7 separate regions of the Homo sapiens genome follow, and regions 2, 3, 4, 5, 6 and 7 are each linked to region 1. Evidence: promoter capture Hi-C in 16 types of primary human blood cells and fetal thymus (Javierre and others, 2016). All regions are on one chromosome and are shown on one strand. The core of a region is centred on a gene start or on the middle of the fragment in contact, and the rest is flanking DNA. Distances in the headings are between cores, read along the strand shown.

Evidence for each region. The method cuts DNA at HindIII sites, captures the fragments that hold promoters and counts their contacts. A CHiCAGO score of 5 or more calls a contact.
Region 2: a fragment that was not itself captured here is called in contact with the fragment with the promoter of TPD52L3 in region 1 in 1 of 17 cell types (endothelial precursors); the score reaches 5.2 in endothelial precursors.
Region 3: a contact is called between a fragment that was not itself captured here and the fragment with the promoter of TPD52L3 in region 1, in 1 of 17 cell types (endothelial precursors). The highest score is 6.3, in endothelial precursors.
Region 4: a fragment that was not itself captured here is called in contact with the fragment with the promoter of TPD52L3 in region 1 in 1 of 17 cell types (endothelial precursors); the score reaches 6.8 in endothelial precursors.
Region 5: a contact is called between a fragment that was not itself captured here and the fragment with the promoter of TPD52L3 in region 1, in 1 of 17 cell types (endothelial precursors). The highest score is 5.9, in endothelial precursors.
Region 6: a contact is called between a fragment that was not itself captured here and the fragment with the promoter of TPD52L3 in region 1, in 1 of 17 cell types (endothelial precursors). The highest score is 5.4, in endothelial precursors.
Region 7: a fragment that was not itself captured here is called in contact with the fragment with the promoter of TPD52L3 in region 1 in 1 of 17 cell types (endothelial precursors); the score reaches 7.3 in endothelial precursors.

What each region holds. Positions count from the first base shown.
Region 1 is chr9:6,326,928-6,329,727 of GRCh38, forward strand. It overlaps TPD52L3 (TPD52 like 3), which reads left to right and starts at 1,448. Exons shown (of 2, transcript NM_001001874.3): 1 at 1,448-2,035. The coding sequence starts at 1,669. It overlaps LOC107987046 (a long non-coding RNA gene), which reads right to left and starts at 1,341. Exons shown (of 3, transcript XR_001746614.2): 1 at 1,274-1,341. The HindIII fragment of the contact is 1,804 bases long and covers 187-1,990 here.
Region 2 is chr9:5,828,798-5,831,597 of GRCh38, forward strand. It overlaps ERMP1 (endoplasmic reticulum metallopeptidase 1), which reads right to left. Exons shown (of 15, transcript NM_024896.3): 2 at 1,930-2,231. Among named protein-coding and RNA genes, the nearest start is that of ERMP1, 2.9 kb to the right of the region's middle. The HindIII fragment of the contact is 1,773 bases long and covers 553-2,325 here.
Region 3 is chr9:5,877,849-5,880,648 of GRCh38, forward strand. It overlaps a transcript of BRD10 not described here. Among named protein-coding and RNA genes, the nearest start is that of MLANA, 12 kb to the right of the region's middle. RefSeq lists an enhancer at 1,773-2,274. The HindIII fragment of the contact is 709 bases long and covers 1,080-1,788 here.
Region 4 is chr9:5,894,422-5,897,221 of GRCh38, forward strand. The region is part of intron 2 of MLANA (melan-A); the gene reads left to right. It also overlaps a transcript of BRD10 not described here. Among named protein-coding and RNA genes, the nearest start is that of MLANA, 4.9 kb to the left of the region's middle. The HindIII fragment of the contact is 1,303 bases long and covers 738-2,040 here.
Region 5 is chr9:6,718,010-6,720,809 of GRCh38, forward strand. LOC124902117 (a long non-coding RNA gene) reads left to right here. Exons shown (of 4, transcript XR_007061412.1): 2 at 1-972; 3 at 1,062-1,145; 4 at 2,413-2,455. Among named protein-coding and RNA genes, the nearest start is that of LINC02851, 15 kb to the left of the region's middle. The HindIII fragment of the contact is 2,775 bases long and covers 40-2,800 here.
Region 6 is chr9:6,688,614-6,691,413 of GRCh38, forward strand. No RefSeq gene overlaps it. Among named protein-coding and RNA genes, the nearest start is that of LINC02851, 14 kb to the right of the region's middle. The HindIII fragment of the contact is 455 bases long and covers 1,116-1,570 here.
Region 7 is chr9:6,657,292-6,660,091 of GRCh38, forward strand. No RefSeq gene overlaps it. Among named protein-coding and RNA genes, the nearest start is that of GLDC, 13 kb to the left of the region's middle. The HindIII fragment of the contact is 7,884 bases long and covers 1-2,800 here.

The DNA of each region.
Region 1 (2,800 bases), core at 198-2,697:
ATCATCTGAAAAAGAAATAATTTGACTTCTTATTTTCCTATTTGAATGACAGGGTATGTCTTGATGTGGGATCTGGCAACTAAGTGTCTGAAAAGCTCAGTTTTGCTATGAGAAAAAAAACCATTCTCTGTCAAAAGGAATCAAGGCTTAATAAAAGATTTCATAGTATACACTGAAGGATGAGGAAGCTTATAAAGAAAATAGGCATCAAGGTTGGTGGTTGAAATAATACAGAGAAGTAAAATCAAGTGCAAGTTCAGATTTGGTGATTTGGAGTCTCAACTTTGAAGAGACAATGTGTGTTCTATATTATGTAGCATAATTCAGGGATTTCTTTACCCTTTAGTCTCAGGTTTGAAAGAGGAGTTCTGATTCAGAGTCTGGGAGTGTTCCTGAAACCACTAGTGTTTCTACAGGCAATAGAGGAAAAGTCTACCCTCTGGAACAAATTGGTTTTTAGGGAGTCCTTGCTGCCCTTTTCAGGCCTTTAAACACATAGCCAAATCCTCCATCAGCCTTCATGTTTACAAGAACAATTCTCACTTTTTAACTTAGGGAAACACACCACTCAGGACAAGGCAATAATAAACACTACTAAATTATGTGAAAGGGTTATAGAACATAAACTCAAAGGAGGGCTGAAGTTGGTTTGAATGCACAGCTGGATGCTTCATTGTAGCCACATAGGCATGAGTAGGGCAAACTGCTGAAATTTGCTGAGGATCAAATTATGTTCCACAAGATCATGCTCGCAAGAATTACAAGAATATCCAACAAAATCACTAGAGTCTAAGACTTGCTCAAGAATATTCTCTGAGAATAGGCAGCCATAGAATGAGCTAAGTGAAGCTCGACCACAAGACCTCACTGGATTAACGTCCTGATTTTTCCATTGCATAAGTTTACTCTCGGCAGAATTACGGTTGGGGGGAGGTTGGGGTGGCAGGTTGGCAGGGGAGAGTGGATCCACACTCTGATAGATCCTATTTAACTAGTTTTACTTTACTGTGCAGACTACCTCCCACAACAGGTAACCTTGAATGTAGGCAGACATGCTTCCAGAAATGTGAGTGGAGGTAGGGCGGAATAAAGAAAATGCAACTGCAAAACTGAAAATTCATACTAGCACAATGATGTTTAAATGATTTTCAAGTGTTGGAGCTGGTGTGGTGGAAAACAGTTGCCTGACGCTTTGGTTTGAAGGCCAGGGCTTGTCATTTACCATGTCAGGAGAAATTCCTCTCTTTTCGACAATAATCTCTGCACTGCCTACCTCAGGAGGTCCTCGCAATGCCAAAATGCCGCCAGTGTGGGTTGCGCCTCAGCTGAGCACTGATTCTACAGCCTCGCGGTTTGGGCGGGAAGTCCCACCTCCGCAACCCTGACCAGCCCGGCTCCCCACCCCCACCACCCGGAAGTGAACACCACGAGCTAGCGTGTCTACTTCACAGGCCAGGTCGTCAACTCAACTGTCAAGGTGTCCATTGTACCAGCTGGGCCATGGATCCCTCCCGCCTGAAATCTGACTCCACCTGCCAAGAGTCTGAGCCTGCAGGCCTAGATTTCGACTCTGCTGGCCAAGATTATTTCTCTGCAGCCCAATAATTCGACTCTTTCTACCAAGAATTGGACCTGGACTCTCTTAACGAAGATCTTCTTTCCCAGTCCATGCCACATGCCAGGACAGAGACCTCTGTGGGCACATATGAATCCCACTCGACTTCTGAACTGGAGGATCTGACAGAGCCCGAGCAAAGAGAGCTCAAAACCAAACTCACTAAATTGGAGGCTGAAATTGTAACCCTACGCCACGTACTAGCAGCCAAAGAGAGACGCTGTGGGGAACTCAAGAGGAAGTTAGGCCTCACCGCCTTGGTAGGGCTGAGACAGAATCTGTCCAAGAGCTGGCTTGATGTTCAGGTCTCCAACACCTATGTGAAACAGAAGACATCAGCTGCTCTGTCCACCATGGGCACTCTCATCTGCAGGAAGCTTGGAGGCGTGAAGAAGTCGGCCACATTCAGATCTTTTGAAGGTCTGATGGGGACAATCAAGTCCAAAGTCTCAGGGGGCAAAAGAGCTTGGCCCTGACTGTCTTTCTTCTGCGGAGGGTGGGGTTGATCTGCTCTCAGTTTTGGGGTGTGGGGAAGACCCACTCCAGATTCCGGGGAGTGGGAATGAGCCACTCCCAGTTCTGGAGAGTGAGGATGACCATCTCCACTTTCTGGAACCAGAATGAGCCCCCTTGGTAACCTTGCCTGGTACTAAACCAGTGCAAGGACCCCCTTCCCTTATTACATTTGCAACTCTGCCCAACAAAAACAAGCAAGCAAACCACAATGGTAAAGTGGTTAATTCAGGAAATTGACAGAATCCAGTTTTGAGAAAAGAACACAGATATTTGCTGCTTTTAAGATAGAGAACCCAAAGTTTTGTACCTGGTTATTTTTCACTTAAGTTTGTAGACGAAATGTGCCATTATATTAGCTTTCCTGAGACTGTATCTAATGGGCAAGTCAGTGGCTCCAGAGGGGTCTTAGGCCAAAGCCCAAACTCTCTTTTGGAAAACTAGCTTATTAGAAAGCCAAAGTAGAGTTCTGTTTAAGCTTGAAAGAGGTATGAAGTAATCTGTAGTGTTTTTTTGGTTTGTTTGTTTGTTTTCCCTTCCCCATTTCCTTCCTTCCCTCAGTCTCAAAGTCACCTTGAAAGCTTCACCTGGCCTACAACTTTTATTTTAAAAAGATGATCAAGAAAACTTCATCTTCTCTGAGACTCAGAAAAAGAGGGGAAAATAGTGGTA
Region 2 (2,800 bases), core at 189-2,688, 500 kb before region 1:
TGTCCCTACATTTGCTGCTAATTCTTGTATATACAGCCTTCTTATATAATGTTCTTAAGCAACCATGGTGTTTATTTGCCGCTTCCCAGAATTTAAGCATCATAATAGTGGGCAAAGAGTGACATTTATTACTGCTTTGAAATGGACATAAAAAAACCACTGGTGGCCGGGCACAGTGGCTCACACCTATAATCTCAGAAATTTGGGAGACTGAGGTAGGCGGATCACTTGAGGTCAGGAGTTCAAGACCAGCCTGGCCAACATGGTGAAACCCTGTCGCTGCCAAAAATACAAAAAAAATCAGCCGAGTGTGGTGGCACAGTAGGAGAATCGCTTAAACCCGGGAGGCAGAGGATGCAGTGAGCCAAGATTGTGCCACTGCATGCCAGCCTGGTGACAGAGTGAGACTTGGCCCCCCAGCCAAAAAAAAAAAAAAAAAAACACTAAACCACTGGTTACCCCAGCAGCACACGAAGGTACTTCTGGCTTATTTAACAAACGTGTGTATACTGATTTTTGAAAATGCAAGTTACATTCTAAACGCAATTGTCAAGCTTTCTAAATGAAGATATTCTAATATGAATCATTTTATCAAGCAAATAAATTTTACTTACATTTTGTATAACTCTAGACGTTCAAATTTGGCCTGCTATAAGTTCGAGTAATCCAGAAGTGTTAATATTACATAAGAGTTAATAAAAACTTTTAAAAATCACTTTCCATGCCAGGTACTATTTTAGCGTTTTACTTATTTTTAATCCTCCAAGCAACACTATTAGGAAAGTACTATTATTTTCTCCATTACACAGATGAGAAACTAAGAAGTTAAGCAATTTGCAAAAGGGAGTATTAATTACACCCTAATATTCTTTTTCCTTTCAAATGTAGCTGAAAGAACTGACTGGCCAGGAAATCCAGCATCTTATCCTAGTTTTGTCTCTGATCAGCGATGACCAGCTAGCTAAATGTACTCCTGTATCAAATGAGGGGTTCAGCCAGATGCCATCTCAGGTCTTGTCTACCACTAAAATGCTATGCCATTGTAAATGCTATTTTCCATCCCTATTTACAATCCCTTTAACCACTGAATACAATTTTCTGAAAAATAAATATTTTAATAAATGGAAGTTCAATTTAGGGGATTCCCATTCATTTGACAAATATATACTGCATCAGGCACTGTCCTAAATGCAAGTATTCTATTTTGCCAAATGATTTTCAGAGAAAGATTTACACATTAATTAGGTACTTTAACAGTATGGCACCCTCAGTGGAGCAAAATTCTCACTTTATAGGTCAACAGAATCTGCTAGAAGAGATATCCGCCAACCCGCAGCCCAGGACAGCTTTGAATGCAGCCCAATACAAATTTGTAAACTTTCTTAAAACATGAGTTTTTTTTTTTAAGCTCATCAGCCATCATTAGTGTATATTATGTGTGGCCCATGACAATTCTTCTTCTTCCAATGTGGCCCAGGGCAGCCAAAAGATTGGACACCCCTGCTCTAAAACCATGCAGTAACCCTTGAAGGCAGGGACTGTCCTTATGTGGTATCCCCAAAGCCTAGTATAACACCCAGCTGAGTAAAACACTTTCTAAGTGTCAGAACCTAACTCCAGGACACTAGGACACACACACTGTCTGGTAACATTGAGAAAGCTGCTTCAGTCTACCAGAAACATTCCAAGTCTTATCACTGGGCTGCTGGCATTAACACCAAAAAATAATATTAATAAAGCACTTAAGAGAAGACAGAATGGTTAGATCCTAAACTAAATGATACTATCCTAATTATCCTGCTTTCCATCACAAAGAAAAAAGGTTTGCCCAAGAAAATGGTCCCCACAATTGCCCAAGTAGCTTGGGGTTATGTTAATAAACTTTCTGGGCTGTGACAAGTTCCAAATGACTAAAAAACAGGTACATACCTGGTGAGTTTGCTACTGAGTCAAAATGACAATTAGCCAAGACAGCATGCTGGGCTCCATCTCTGGGTTCCAGCTTTACCACAACATTGGTGATGTTGTCATAATAGCTTGTAAAACCTCCCAAGAAATCAATGCTAAAAGAGCCTGTGGGCCGTTGTACATCTACTGAAATCTTATGAAGGCTGTTGCTTTGCACTTCAATCAGTTTAATCTGTTCCAAAAGGTAGTGCACGGTCAGAATTTCATTTTCTGGACTTCCTGTAGTCCTGGGGCCAATGGAGGTTATGTGTTCAAGATAATCCCTGGAAGTAACCAAAAGAATAACAAAGGTTTGTAGTTAAAATTGACACTTAGCGTGGGTAACTTTTCCACTACACACCCCTTCCTCCCCAAAAAAGCTTAGTTCTTTGCCTTATATAAAAGGGACCGCCTTTCATTATTTCAGACACCAAGTGAACATCACTTATAAAGTTCCATATTTTTATTGTTGCCTCCCACGAGTTGACCCCTTCAGTTTTCTCCACCATCCCACTCCCAACTTCTCCCCATATCAAACCAATACAAGGACTAGGGATGTATTCAAAACGTGTGACCACTGGCCAGGCACGGTGGCTCACGCCTGTAATCCCAGGACTTTCGGAGGCTGAGGTGGGTGGATTGCTTGAGCTCAGGAGTTTGAGACCAGCCTGGGCAACATGGTGAAACCCCATCTCTTCTAAAACTACAAAAACTAGCCAGATGTAGACTACTATCCGCCTGTAGTCCCAGCTACTCAAGAGGCTGAGGTGGGAGGACTGCTTGAACCTGGGAGGTGGAGGCTACAGACCCGAGATGGAGCCACTGCACTCCAGCCTGGGCGACAGAGCCAGGC
Region 3 (2,800 bases), core at 184-2,683, 450 kb before region 1:
TCATACAGGAAAGGGATTTATGCCTAAGGCTGTCCATGTATTGTCTGAAGAAGGTCTGCCTTCGAAAACATGTGTTCATGTGATGTAGACTATTAGAGGTTCAGAAAGGGAAACAGCAACTCAACAAGCTTTGGTGACTACTGAATCCAGTCCTTGGCATATCATAGGAGCTCAAGAAATGTTATGGACTAGTTGAAAGGATCTGGGCAATGCCTCTGTTAGAAATTATTTATCACCAGGACCAGTTAAAAATCAGTGTCTTCATTTATTTATTTACTTTTATTCATTCAAGAAATATCTATTGAGTCCCTACTGATAATGGAAAGGTGAATGAGTCAGTCCCTGCTCCTGAGAACATTAAGGAATAATCAACATGGAGGGTCCCTGGAACCAATGTTACTAAATAAATAACCGACCCTGGGGAAGAGCAACCATACTTAAAAGGCATCTTATGCTGGACTGTGTTTAGTTCCTGAGAAGTGTCCCCCTTGGGGAGGCACCATGTATAAGAATGGGAGTTGGGCCATTTGCCAGTTACTACTTATGTAATCCTAAATTATCTAAACTCATGAGCCTCATTCTCCTCTGTAAAAGGGGTGTAATAATCACACCTACCTGACAGCGCTGCTGTGAGGATTTGAGAAGAATATGAAATAATCCATGTAATAATCAGTTTGCTCAGTTTCTGGCACTCAGTAAGAAGACATACATTTAGTAGATATTTATGGGCTGAGCTCCTTGTGGAAAGGGATTACATTTTAGTCTCTTTGTTAACTACTTCGAGGAATAGGCCCATCAATCACACAAGAGGTGGGATCTATAATGACTCTTCATAATGATGTGGCCCAAAGAGTGTTTCTTGGAGCACCAAAGCCAACAAACACTTTCTTCATAATTAAATAGTTCGAGAAACTCTGCTGGCAATGCAACTGTCTTCTCTTGAAGATTCATAAGGTATATCAGTAGATTAAGGATGTTAGAAGAGTTTGTAATGAAGAAACCTGTTTAACTTTATTTAGTTCAGTGTTTTCCAATCTTATCGGACCAATAATGTACCCTGGAAGAACCCAAACTCCTGAAGCTTCAACTTGGAAGGAGATTCTGGGCAGAGAGATGGTTGATGCCAGAGCTCCTGCCTCTCCTGAGGGTTTCTTCTCCCCCATGGAGTTCTCACTTTACTCTCTGCTGTTGCCATCTATTGACTTCCAGGGTTGTTCTGACGCCTCATTAAAACTCACAGTAGAGCTGATGCTGGCTGAAATATTACAAAGACTTTGCTAAACATCAGAGGGACTTCCAGAAGAATACAAAGAAACATCAAGAAACACATCAGGCTGGGTGCGGTGGCTCACACCTGTAATTCCAGCACTTTAGGAGGCTGAGGTGGGCAGATCACTTTAGGTCAGGAGTTCGAGACCAGCCTGGCCAACATGGTGAAACCCCATCTCTACTAAAAATAAAAAAATTATCCGGGTGTGATGGTGCACTCCAGCCTGGGAAGGGCAACAGAGCAAGACTCTGTCTCAAAAAAAAAAGAGAGAAAGAAAAAGAGAAAAAAGAAACACATCAAAGCCTGATGGGAGTTGCAGCCCCCACACAGCCGGCTGCTGGCAGGCATTGTCCCCTTGAGACCCTGCCTCCTTTTCATCCCTAAAGGGCTGGTTGACCCATGATCAACCCAATCCCAATCCCCAATGCCAGCGGCCCCAAAGGAACCTGACCCTTGATGACCGCCCACACTGGTCTGGTGGCCACCGCTGGCTCTTTAAGATATGCTTGGGCCCTTGAAGCTTCTCTTAATTAACTGACAAGCAGACACTGGGCTGGACCAATTAAATGAGCTCAGGGATGACTCACTGGAAGGAAATGCAGAGATACAGAACCAGATAATCTGACTCACATGGTCAGCCTCTCTAGGTTCTAGCTTATTTACCTGCAGAATGTCAGAGATAATGGATTTATCCGACCTCTGACTATAATTCTAAAAAATCCCATAGCTCGGATCTCCCTGTCAGATAATAAGTCAGTTCTACTGAATTATTTTTTAATGTAACAAGACAAAAATGCTACGTAGAACTTACTTCTTTCTGAGACAGAATCTCGCTCTGTCTCCCAAGCTGGAGTGCAGTGGTATGATCTCAGCTCACTGCAACCTCCGCCTCCCGGGTTCCAGAGATTCTCCAACTTCAACCTCCCAAGTAGCTGGGATTACAGGCACACAGCACCATGCCCAGCTAACTTTTTTTATTTTTAGTAGAGACAGGGTTTCACCATGTTGGCCAGGCTGGTCTCACTCCTGACCTCAAGAGTTCTGTCCACCTCAGCCTCCCAAAGTGCTGGGATTACAGGTGTGAGCCATCACACCCCACCAGAAGTTTCTTTAAAAATAAAAAATAAAAAAACAAGCCAAATCCCAGCACTTTGGGAGGCTGAGGTGGGCGAATCACAAGGTGAAGAGTTAGAGACCAGCCGGACCAACATGGTGAAACCCTGTCTCTACTAAAAACACAAAAATTAGCCGGGCGTCATGGCACGCGCCTGTAATCCCAGCTACTCAGGAGGCTGATGCAGGAGAGAACTGCTTCAACCTGGGAGACGGAGGTTGCAGTGAGCTGAGATCCCGCCACTGCACTCCAGCCTCGGCAACAGAGTGAGACTCTGTCTCAAACAAACAAACAAAAACAAAAAACAAACAAACAAAAAAACACTGAAGTTCTTTAGCTCTTAAAAAGTCTGAATTAGTTTTCCCCACACAGACATGGTCAGGAAGAAATTAGAAAACATGACTCTGACCTTGGGC
Region 4 (2,800 bases), core at 139-2,638, 430 kb before region 1:
ACCCCCGTGTCTGGGGTAACAAACGGAAGGGTGAGGCCATCAGGACCTAGAGTTGGGAGGAGGGACGCCACAGAAATGGGACCCAGATCTCTAAGGAGAGATTTTTGTTTGGCTGGTTCTGGTGTCTCAAGAGCTTAGAAGTGAGGGGCATGAATCAAATACTCAGGCCTCTGAGGTCAGCCAGTGCTCTGCTGGGGAGGGGCATAATGAAGCTGGCTCTGACAATGCCGGAAAACGAGCTGGTGCTTGGCATATACAGACAATGTGAGCATTGCTGGGGTGATCCTGACAGGAGCCAGAAGCACACTGGAAGGAGCTGCTCCTTCTTGATGCCCCAGGTTTGTAGGCACCCTCTAGAGTACTCTAATGGGAGCCAGTGGGCAAAGGAGAAGTGGCATTTGCAGAGTCCAGTCCCAGCATCACAGAGCAGAGCATAGAAAGGTAGGTTTGGAGTTGAGGGACAATGGCTTAATAAAGGGCAAAGGGGGTTATGACCACTATCATGTGAAGGAACCCCTTGACTGAAGGCACAAGCTTTCTGTGTCTTGCAACCTGAATGACGTGCATAAGCAGGGTCAGGTGGGTTATCTGACATTTTCCTTGAGAACAAGAGGGAGCCTCTGGATTCCAGCACAAAAGAAAAATACCCACTCAACCCGTATGCGTGGGAGCTATCCTTTAAAGAGAAAGTAATTCCTTTTGACATTTTGCTGTCTGTAGAAGGGTCAGATGGCCAAAGCTTCCAGCACAATGAAACACTTAACTTCAGTCTGTGAGTGTAGGAACCCCTGAATACATGGAACATCATCATCTTGTGCAGGTACTGAAGGAGATCGGTCCAGAAAATAAGTAACTGCACATGGCCACCAATGTCAAAAGTCATTCCTCTCATGAAAAGTCCCTGCCCCCATTGCTGTTTGTTTAAATAGGTGGGATGGAGGTAGGGGAATGGGGCCATCTTCTTTTTTTTTTTTTAATTTTTTTGCATAAAATCCAGATCCTGCACAATGGGGCAATCTTCATTAAAACAATGCATCCCTAAGATCTGAGAATATTTATCCTTCTCACAATTGTGCCAGCAGGTGGAATGAAGAAGAATGATGCAAAATAAGTTCCCACATCCAGCCAAGAAGGACTACATACCTGCTTTGGGTATTATGTATCTCTTTGAAACCTCAGTGGAGAGCAGTTCTCACAGTTGGGTGGACACAAGTCATCCATGGAACTTGTTAAAATGCAGATTTCTAGGTGCTGCCACCTAAGAGGCTGATTGGGTAGGCCAGGGGTGGAGTCCTATGATCTGCACCTTAACGTGCATCTCAGGTGATTCTGCTGCAGGTGGTATTTGGAAGACACTCTGAGGCGCCCTGCCAAGCTGGGCAGTGGGTTCTTCCAATGTGTCAGGCATACCCTGGTGCTTTTCGCTCTCAGTTACTTGGGCATGTTGTGAGTACCACGTGACCATGCATAAAGTGCTGTAACAGAGCTCTGACTGTGTCAAGATATTCAAGTGGACGCCACAGGGTAAAATGAGAGCACAGGCATGTTGGGAGTTGAATCAGCTGCCTTCAGTCACGAGAACACACTGAACACTCCTTGTGACAGCTTCAGTTCAGGAAAGAGTGACTCTGCAGGAAAAGCACTGGCCTGGGAGACCTGGATCTGGCCCAAATTCTGGTGCTCACTTGCTTGGTCTCCCGTTCCAGTTGCTGTGAATGTTGGTTCTGCCACTTGCTGGTTGTGCAGCCCTGGGCACTTGACCAGCATAATGTCAGCTGTAAAATGAACATCATTCCTAACTCCGAGGACTGTGGTTAGGATGAAATAAAAGCATATATGTGGGGGTGCCTAGCCCAGTGCCTGGCACAAATTGGTGCTCAATGAATGGTAGTCACTATGGTTATGGTAATGTTGATGAATCTTCATAGGTCTCAGCTTCCTGATCTATAAAGCGGGTGGACTGACCTACATAAGTCAGAGTTTCCATCTAGCACTGTCATCCCATGGTTCGCTCTATCCTGTTTGGAGACGGACAGGATAAGCTTGATGTCTCCTCAGCCTTGAGACAGAAGTTGTCCAGTAGATGGTACTGAGCAAAAGTCTCTCCAGCAGAAGCCTTAGTTAAACCTTGCTTCTCCTGTAGCTGCTCAGTCTCTTGTAAGTCACTCAGCTCTGCAGAAACTTTCTTAGCGAGTTGACAACCACAGATAACAGAGTCAGTTCTGTCGATTTTGATCATGCTGTGATCAGGCAGATGTTAGCTAATTGATGATGCTTGCCCGGAGTGAACAGCTCCAGGCCCTGTTTCCAGGGTCTTTGTGGTAACTTTGTGGTAACTGTAATGCTTCCCAGGGGTCACTGAACACAGGGCCCAAGAGGCTGGTGTAGACCCCCAGATTGGCACCCTGCTGCTTAGACAAGATCCTTCTCAATAAGTAATGCCACAGCTTTGCTGTAGGTTCAGCCCAGACACTTCTCCCTAGGGCTGCAAGGAGCAAAGCGGGGAGTTTAGGGAAGGGAGGGCACGAACATAATTGAGACGGATTCAGGTTCAAATCCAGCCTCTGTTTTGTGCTAGCTCTGTATGATCACCAGCGAGTCATGTATCCTCTGCCTTTTATTTCCTCTTCTGTGAAAATAGGGGATGATAAATTGTGTCTACCCTCCAGTGTTGATGTGAGAATTGAATAAGCTAATGAATGTTTAGCACAGCACCTGGCTTTTAGTAGATGAGTCAGTGTTAATTTCTATTTTCTCTTTGTGGGCTGAGTTGGAGAAAATGTTTTAAAACAGCCTGATG
Region 5 (2,800 bases), core at 177-2,676, 390 kb after region 1:
AGCTAATATTCTCTTCTGCTGTCCCCAAAATTTAAACGAAGCTTCTCTTAACCCATTGCAAATGAGAAAAATCTTTGAATCTACCTATGACTATAAGCCCTTATTTCAAGATATCCTGCCTTTTTAGGCCAGAACCAAAGTGTAACCTCCATCTATTGATTTACAATTTTGCCTGTAACTTTGGCTTTCCTGAAATTTACCCCAGCCTTAAAAAAAAAAAAGAACAGAAAAAGAAAACTGCAAGGCATCAGGGAGGTCAGAATTTGGGCATGAGCTGCCTGATCCTCCTTGCTTTGCATCTTTGCAAATAGATGCCTTCAGCTGTGCATGATGGCTCACACCTCTCATCCCAGCACTTTGGGAGGGCAAGGCGGGAGGATTGCTCCATCCCAGGAGTTCGAGATCAGGGGCAAAATGCCGAAACCCTGTCTCTACAAAAAATTAAAAAATTAGCTGGGCATGATGGTGCACTTCTGTAGTCCCAGCTACTTGGGAGGCTGAGGCAGGGGGATTGCTTGAGCCCAAGAGGTTGAGGCTACATGAGCCATCATCGTGCCACTGCACTCCAGCCTGGGAAACAGAATGAGACCCTGTCTCAAAACAAAACATTTGAAAAATAACAAGTTCAGGTGCAGTGGCTCATACCTGTAATCCCAGCACTTTGGGAGGCCAAAGTGGTCGGATCACTTGAGGCCAGGAGTTCATGACCAGCCTGGCCAACATGGCAAAACCCCATCTCTACTAAAAATACAAAAATTAGCTGGGTGTGGTGGCTGGCAACTCTAGTCCCAGCTACTCCGGAGGCTGAGGCAGGAAAATCACTTGAACCCAGGAGGCGGAGGTTGAAGTGAGCCGAGATCACACCACTGCACTCCAGCCTGGGCAACAGAGCAAGACTCTGTCTCCAAAAATAACAAAAAATAAATACATGCCTTCCTTTCTACTGCTGCACAACCTCACTGTGTCAGGCAGGTGAGTGGACCCCAGTTAGGTTCTATAACACCTGGGCGAGGGTTTTTAGTATGGTAATAAGACTTAGCCACATTTTGTATCCATCTCAGGCATCTCTGGATCCAGCTGGTTTTTGTTTTGCTGAGGCTCAGCTTCTTCCTGGAACTTTTTGAAACAACACTCAAGGGTCTCAAGTGGGTATTTTTTCATGTTGTATACCCAAAAACCTGAAAACCCAGGGCCCTGGGTTACAGTATTTCCACGTCGTATACCCAAAAACCTGAAAACCTGGGGACCCTGGGTTCCAGTATTTCCTGGCGATCTTACCCACTACCACCATCTAGTCAATTTGAACCACCTCCTCAACCACCTATGAGGGCCTAAACACTCTTTCACTCCCTTTCCTGCCAGCACCCCTCAAGCTGATAAAAATACTTTGGTCTTTAAAGCCGACTGGAAATGCTGAGTCAAAATCAAATTTGGAATATTTAAAGTGGATTCAAAAATATTTCAGCAATGCAGACAATTGTGAATAATGAAGCTGTTGGTAATATATGTCTTGATATCCTATACAACAAACAAATTGTCTGAATATGTACGAGTGATTATTTTTTTCTTTTGTTTTTTTTTTTTTGAGATGGAGTTTAGCTCTTGTCGCCTAGGCTGGAGTGCAATGGCACGATCTTGGCTCACTGCAACCTCCGCCTCCCGGGTTCAAGCAATTTCCTGCCCCAGCCTCCCGAGTAGCTGGGATTACAGGTGCCTGCCACCACGGCCGGCTAATTTTGTATTTTTAGTAGAGATGGAGTTTCAGCATGTTGGCCAGTCTGGTCTCGAACTCCTGATCTCAGGTGATCTGCCCACCTCAGCCTCCCAAAGTGCTGGGATTACAGGCATGAGCCACTGCACCTGGCCCCTTTTTCTTATTTTTCATTACCAACAGTTTGCCCTGACAGATATACCAGTGATTTTTTGAAAACTGTGCAGTCACGGTTATTGTTGAGCCATATAATCTTGCACTTTTCAGTCCTGCAGGGCAAAAAGATTATAACAGAATGACCCCCACAGCTATCCACAATCGGATGTATTAATTTTTTTTTTTTTTTTTTTTGAGACGGAATTCACTCTGTTGCCTAGGCTGGAGTGCAATGGCACGCGACCTCGGCTCACTGCAACCTCCGCCTCCTGGGTTGAAGCGATTCTCCTGCCTCAGCCTCCCAAGTAGCTGGGATTACAGCCGTTTGCCACCACGCCCAGCTAATTTTTGTATTTTTAGTAGAGACGGGGTTTCACCATGCTGGCCAGGATGGTCTCGAACTCCTGACCTCAGGCGATCTGCCCGCCTCAGCCTCCCAAAGTGTTGGGATTACAGGTGTGAGCCACCGTGCCCAGCTAGATGTATTAATATTTATAGTTTATCTTCTTTTTTTTTTGAGATGGAGTTTTGCTCTTATTGCCCAGGCTGGAGTGCAATGGTGCGATCTCGGCTCACTGCAACCTCGGCTCTCTGCAACCTCTGCCTCCTGGGTTCAAGTGATTCTTCTGCCTCAGACTCCCAAGTAGCTGGGATTACAGGCATGTGCTACCACTCCCGGATTATTTTCTATTTTTAGTACAGACCAGGTTTCTCCATGTTGGTCAGACTGGTCTCAAACTCCCTACCTCAAGTGATCTGCCCACCTCGGCCTCCCAAAGTGCTGGGATTAAAGGCGTGAGTCACCACCCCTGGCCTTATAGTTTATCTTCTAGTGGTCTTCTATCCTCATTTGAAAATGTGAAAAGTGGGTACCTGAGATAATTCACCGACTCATTGTTTCTTGGAACCACAATTGATCTCAGAAGTGTAACC
Region 6 (2,800 bases), core at 93-2,592, 360 kb after region 1:
AAACAAATGTCAGAAAGGCAAAATAGCCAGCATTCTCCATTTGCTTTTTTGGGTTTACTGGGTGAATAGCACTTCCCTTACATAGGCATCTGATTTCAGGTTTTTCATACTGAGAACATTGAGATTTCAGCTGGAAGACACCCTGAAATCTTCTGAGTAGCATACCTCAACCACCCTCTAATAACTGACTTGTTTGTATAGGCAGAACGATTCATCTCTCCATTTTAGATGGCTAGATAAAACTACATCATTATTGATTATAGTCACTCTATTGTGCAGTAAATCTCAAAGCCTTCTATCTGAAATTTTGCACCCTTTGATTAACAATTCCCCATTCTCCTCGTCTCCACTCTCCCCAGCCTCTGGTAGCCATCATTCTACTATCTGCTGCTATGAATTTGACATGTTTGGATTCCACATATAAGTGAGATCATGTAGTATTTGTCTTTCTATACCTGGCTTATTTCACTTAGCATAATGTTTTCCAGATTCATCCATCTTGTCACAAATGATGGTATTTACCTACATTTTTGTTTTTGGAGACAGGGTCTCACTTTGTTGTCCAGGTTGGAGTGCAGTGGTACAAACACAGCTCACTGCAACCTCAACCTTGACCAGGCTCAAGTGATCCTCTCACCTCAGCCCCCCAAGTAGCTGGGACTACAGGCGTGAACCACCACACCCTGCTAATTTTTTTTTGTTTTTGATACGGAGCCTCACTCTGTCACCAGGATGGAGTACAGTGGTGCCATCTTGTCTCACTGCAACCTCTGCCTCCCAGGTTCAAGCAATTCTCCTGCCTCAGCCTCCTGAGTAGCTGGGATTACAGGTGCACACCACCACGGTCAGCTAATTTTTGTATTTTTAGTAGAGACAGGGTTTAACCATGTTGGCCAGGATGGTCTCAATCTCTTGCCCTCGTGATCCTCCCGCCTCAGCCTCCCAAAGTGCTGGGATTACAGGCATGAACCACCGTGCCCGGCCTGGACTTTTTTCTTTTTTTTGAGACAGGGTCTCACTATGTTGCTCAGGCTGGAGTGCAGTGGCGCAGTCTCAGCTCACCGCAACCTCTGCCTCCCAGGTTCAAGCGATTCTCCTGTTTCAGTCTCCCAAGAAGCTTGGGATTACAGGTGCCTGCCACCATGCCCAGTTAATTTTTGTATTTTTAGTAGAGACAGGGTTTCACCACATTGGCCAGGCTGGTCTTGAACTCCTGACCTCAGGTGATCTGCCTGCCTCAGCCTTCCAAAGTGCTGGGATTACATGCTTGAGCCAACGCGCCTAGCCAAAAAGGACTTCTATAGGAAGGACAAATAGGTTTCTCTAAAAAAGACAAATGTGTTTTTAGAAGAACAAATGGGAGACATGCAAACATTATCACAAACCAAACTTTCTTATATAGGTGTGAGTGGTCTTTTTCAGGTTCATAAAACTGCCAGAGAGGGGATTTATGGTAGGTTTATTCTGGGTCTCTCCCCTGGGAGTAGAAGCCACCCCAAACAGGAAATTTATGTCCGTCCTCATTTCTCAGAAGTTTCTACTTTTAATCAAATAAGGGAAGTCCCAAGGAAGCTTCTTTCTGCATCTGTTCCATCTCAAATGTCTTCAGCTTAAAATAATCTTTATACTAACTCCAGTGTTCTGAGTGGGACCCCACAATTGTATATTTAATCACCTTGTGAAACTTGACAAGTATTTAACCCAACATTTTCTGATTTGGAATATTTTAGAGAATGTGATTCATTAATAAATCATTTATCAAAAAAAGAGATCATTGGTTTGACAGTGCTGGGCTTACAGGCATGGGCCACCATGCCCGGCCAGCAGTATGTATTTTAGTTGACTGGCAAACAGACAATTGTTCCCTTTTTTCCTTTTTTAAATTTCAAGCCTTGTCACTGTGTCATAAGACAATTGTTCATGATGTCATAAATGTAATTTTTACTTCAATAAACTATAATACACTTGTAACATTCCAGGCTCTTTTTATTGTGTGTGTGTGTGTGTGTTCTTTTTTAAATTTTTAATTATTGGCTGGGCACAGTGTCTCATGCCTGTAATCCTAGCACTTTGGGACGCCAAAGCAGGTGAATCACTTGAGGTCAGGAGTTCAAGACCAGCCTGGGCAACATGGTGAAACCGCGTCTCTACTAAAAATACAAAAATTAGCTGGGTGTGGTGACACACATTTGTAATTGCAGCTACTCAGGAGGCTGAGGAATGAGAATCACTTGAACCCGGGAGATGGAGGTTTCAGTGAGCCGAAATCGCACCAGTGCACACCGGTCTAGGTGACAGAATGAGAATCTGTCTCAAAATAAAAAAAAATGGTTTTCAGGCCTTTCTTTTTTTTGTTAGAGACAGGATTTCACTCTGTCTCCCAGACTGGAGTGCAGTGACACAATCATAGTTCACTGCAGCCTTGAGCTGTTGGGCTCAGGGAATCCTGCCTCAGCCTCTTGAGTGGCTGGGACTACAAGCATGCCACGATGCCTAGCTATTTTTATTTATTTTTTATTTTTATTTATTTATTTTTGAAACAGAGTCTTGCTTTGTCACCCAGGCTGGAATGCAGTGGTGCGATCTGGCTCACTGCAACCTCCGCCTCCTGGGTTCAAGCAATTCTCCTGCCTCAGCCTCCTGAGTAGCTGGGACTACAGGCGTGCACCACCACACCCAGCTAATTTTTGTATTTTTAGTAGAAACGGGGTTTCACCATGTTAGCCAGGCTGGTCTCGAACTCTTGACCTCAGGTAATCCATCTGCCTCGGCCTCCCAAATTGCTGGGATTACAGGCGGT
Region 7 (2,800 bases), core at 184-2,683, 330 kb after region 1:
GTTTCACGCATAAATAATAGGTACTGCTCTTTCTATAGATCCAATAGAAAATACTCTTTTTTTGGTTCTAGCTCTTTTCCTTGAAACTTTATTTATATTTAAATTTTTTACCCCCAGGCCTGGTGGCTCATGTCTGTGATCCCAGCACTTTGGGAGGCCAAGGCGGGCAGATTACCTGAGGCTTGGAGTTCGAGACCAGCCTGACCAACATGGTGAAACCCCCGTCTCTACTAAAAATACAAAAACTAGCCGGGCATGGTGGTGGGCATCTGTAATCCAAACTACTCAGGAGGCTGAGGCAGAAGAATCACTTGAACCTGGAGGCGAAGGTTGCAGTGAGCTGAGATCGCACCATTGCACTCCAGCCTGGGTGATAGAGCAAGACTGTGTCTCAAAAACAATACTGTTGCCCAGACTGGAGTGCAGTGGCGCGATCTCGGCTCACTGCAACCTCCGCCTCCCGGTTTCAAGCGATTCTCCTGCCTCAGCCTCCTGAGTGGCTGGGACTACAGGCCCATGCCACCATAACCTGGCTAATTTTTCTATTTTAGTAGACCCGGGGTTTCACTGTGTTGGCCAGGCTGGTCTCAAACTCCTGACCTCAGGTGATCCGCCTTTCTCGGCCTCCCAAAGTGCTGGGATTACAGGCGTGAGCCACCACGCCCAACCAATTTTTTTGTGTGGTTTTAAAGACAGGATCTCCCTCTGTCACCCAGGCTGGAGTACAGTGACATGATCATAGCTTATTGTAGCCTCTGACTCCTAGGCTCAAAAGATATTCCCATTTCAGCCTTCCAAGTAGCTGGAAATACAGGCACATGCCACCACTCCCAGCTTTGAAGTGTGTTGTTGTTGTTTTTAATAAAACTTTTTTTTAATGCAATGGATTTTTTTAGTTTTGTTTTGTTTTGAGACTGGGTCTTGCTCCATTGCCCAAGCTGGAGTGCCGTGGTGCGATCTTGGTTCACCACAACCTTGCCTTCCCGGAATCAAGCAATCCTCCCGCCTCAGCAGCACCTGCCCTCCCCACTGGGAAGCTAGGACTACAGGTGCTCACCACCATGCCCAGCTAATTTTTATATTTTTTGTAGAGATGGAGTTTCACCATGTTCCCCAGGCTGGTCTCGAACTCCTGGCCTCAAGCAGTCAGCCCCCGTTGACCTCCCAAAGTGCTGGGATGACAGGTGTGAGCCACTGCACCTGGCCCAATGTGTTTTTTAATGGAAAAAAAAATCGCACAGAAGACATTCATGCCCTGGCCAAGTCAGGGGGCTACCCCAAGTAAATCGTGATTTGCTGTGGGAATGGGAGCTGGATCTCAGTCCTGACCAAGATCCCTATGGATGAGTCCCGGCTCTGCCACTTACTGAAAATGTACATTGTAGCAGTTTACTTAACTTTATTCTGCCTCTGTTTCTCATTTGTAAAATACAGTCATTGTGAGTTTTGAATAAGTCATCATTTCCTTCCCTTCTTCTTCTTATACTACCAGAGTGTTAGTCTTTGCAAACCCAAATATTTAAAGAGACTGCTATTTTTATTTGCTTTTATCACAATGTTCCTAACTTGGGTAAATCAACATGATGCAATAAGATCAAGACCTCTTTGGTCGTTTACTGGGCTGAAATCTTGTAATAAATGCTCACAAGATATCAAATGGCAAAAACTATATCATTCAAAAGATGTGAGTATTATAAATCCAGAGTAATGTCTGGTACAGAATAAGAGAATTGGGGGGTACTTTAGCCACCCCCTAATCTCTGATACATATCTTTATATTAAATATCATGGATGGGCTGATTTGATGCCAGTCCCCTAGGTATTGAGCAAGTTGTGTAACCTCCGCAAACTCCTCCTGCAAGATCCAGGTCAGGAGCAGCCACTCAGACCCTAGGCTGAGCACGAATGCTAGAGGTTGGACCATTAGGAAGAAACAAGTCAGCACCTAGGCATCCTTTTACACAGGTTTTCAAAAAGACCCACTTACACACCTATCTGCCAGGGAGGTTCTGCTTTTCTTTTTTATTTTTATTTTTATTTATTTATTTATTTATTTTGAGACGGAGTCTCGCTCTGTCGCCCAGGCTGGAGTGCAGTGGCGCGATCTTGGCTCACTGCAAGCTCCGCCTCCCGGGTTCACGCCATTCTCCTGCCTCAGCCTCCCGAGTAGCTGGGAATACAGGCGCCTGCACTGCGCCCGGCTAATTTTTTTTTTTGTATTTTTAGTAGAGACGGGGTTTCACCGCGGTCTCGATCTCCTGACCTCGTAATCCGCCCGCCTCAGCCTTCCAAAGTGCTGGGATTACAGGCGTGAGCCACCGCGCCGGGCCTTTTTTTTTTTTTTGAGACGGAGTCTTGCTCTGTCGCCCAGGCTGGAGTGCAGTGGGGCGATTTCTGCTCACTGCAAGCTCCGCCTCCCGGGTTCACTCCATTCTCCTGCCTCAACCTCCCAAGTAGCTGGGATTACAGATGCCCGCGACCACGCCCGTCTAATTTTTTTTGTATTTTTAGTAGAGACGGGGTTTCACCGTGTTAGCCAGGATGGTCTCGATCTCCTGACCTCGTGATCCGCCCGCCTCGGCCTCCCAAAGTGCTGTGATTACAGGTTCCCACCACCACGCCCAGCTAATTTTTTTTGTATTTTTAGTAGAGACGGGGTTTCACCGTGTTAGCCAGGATGGTCTCGATCTCCTGACCTCGTGATCCGCCCGCCTCGGCCTCCCAAAGTGCTGTGATTACAGGTTCCCACCACCACGCCCAGCTAATTTTTTTTGTATTTTTAGTAGAGACGGGGTTTCAC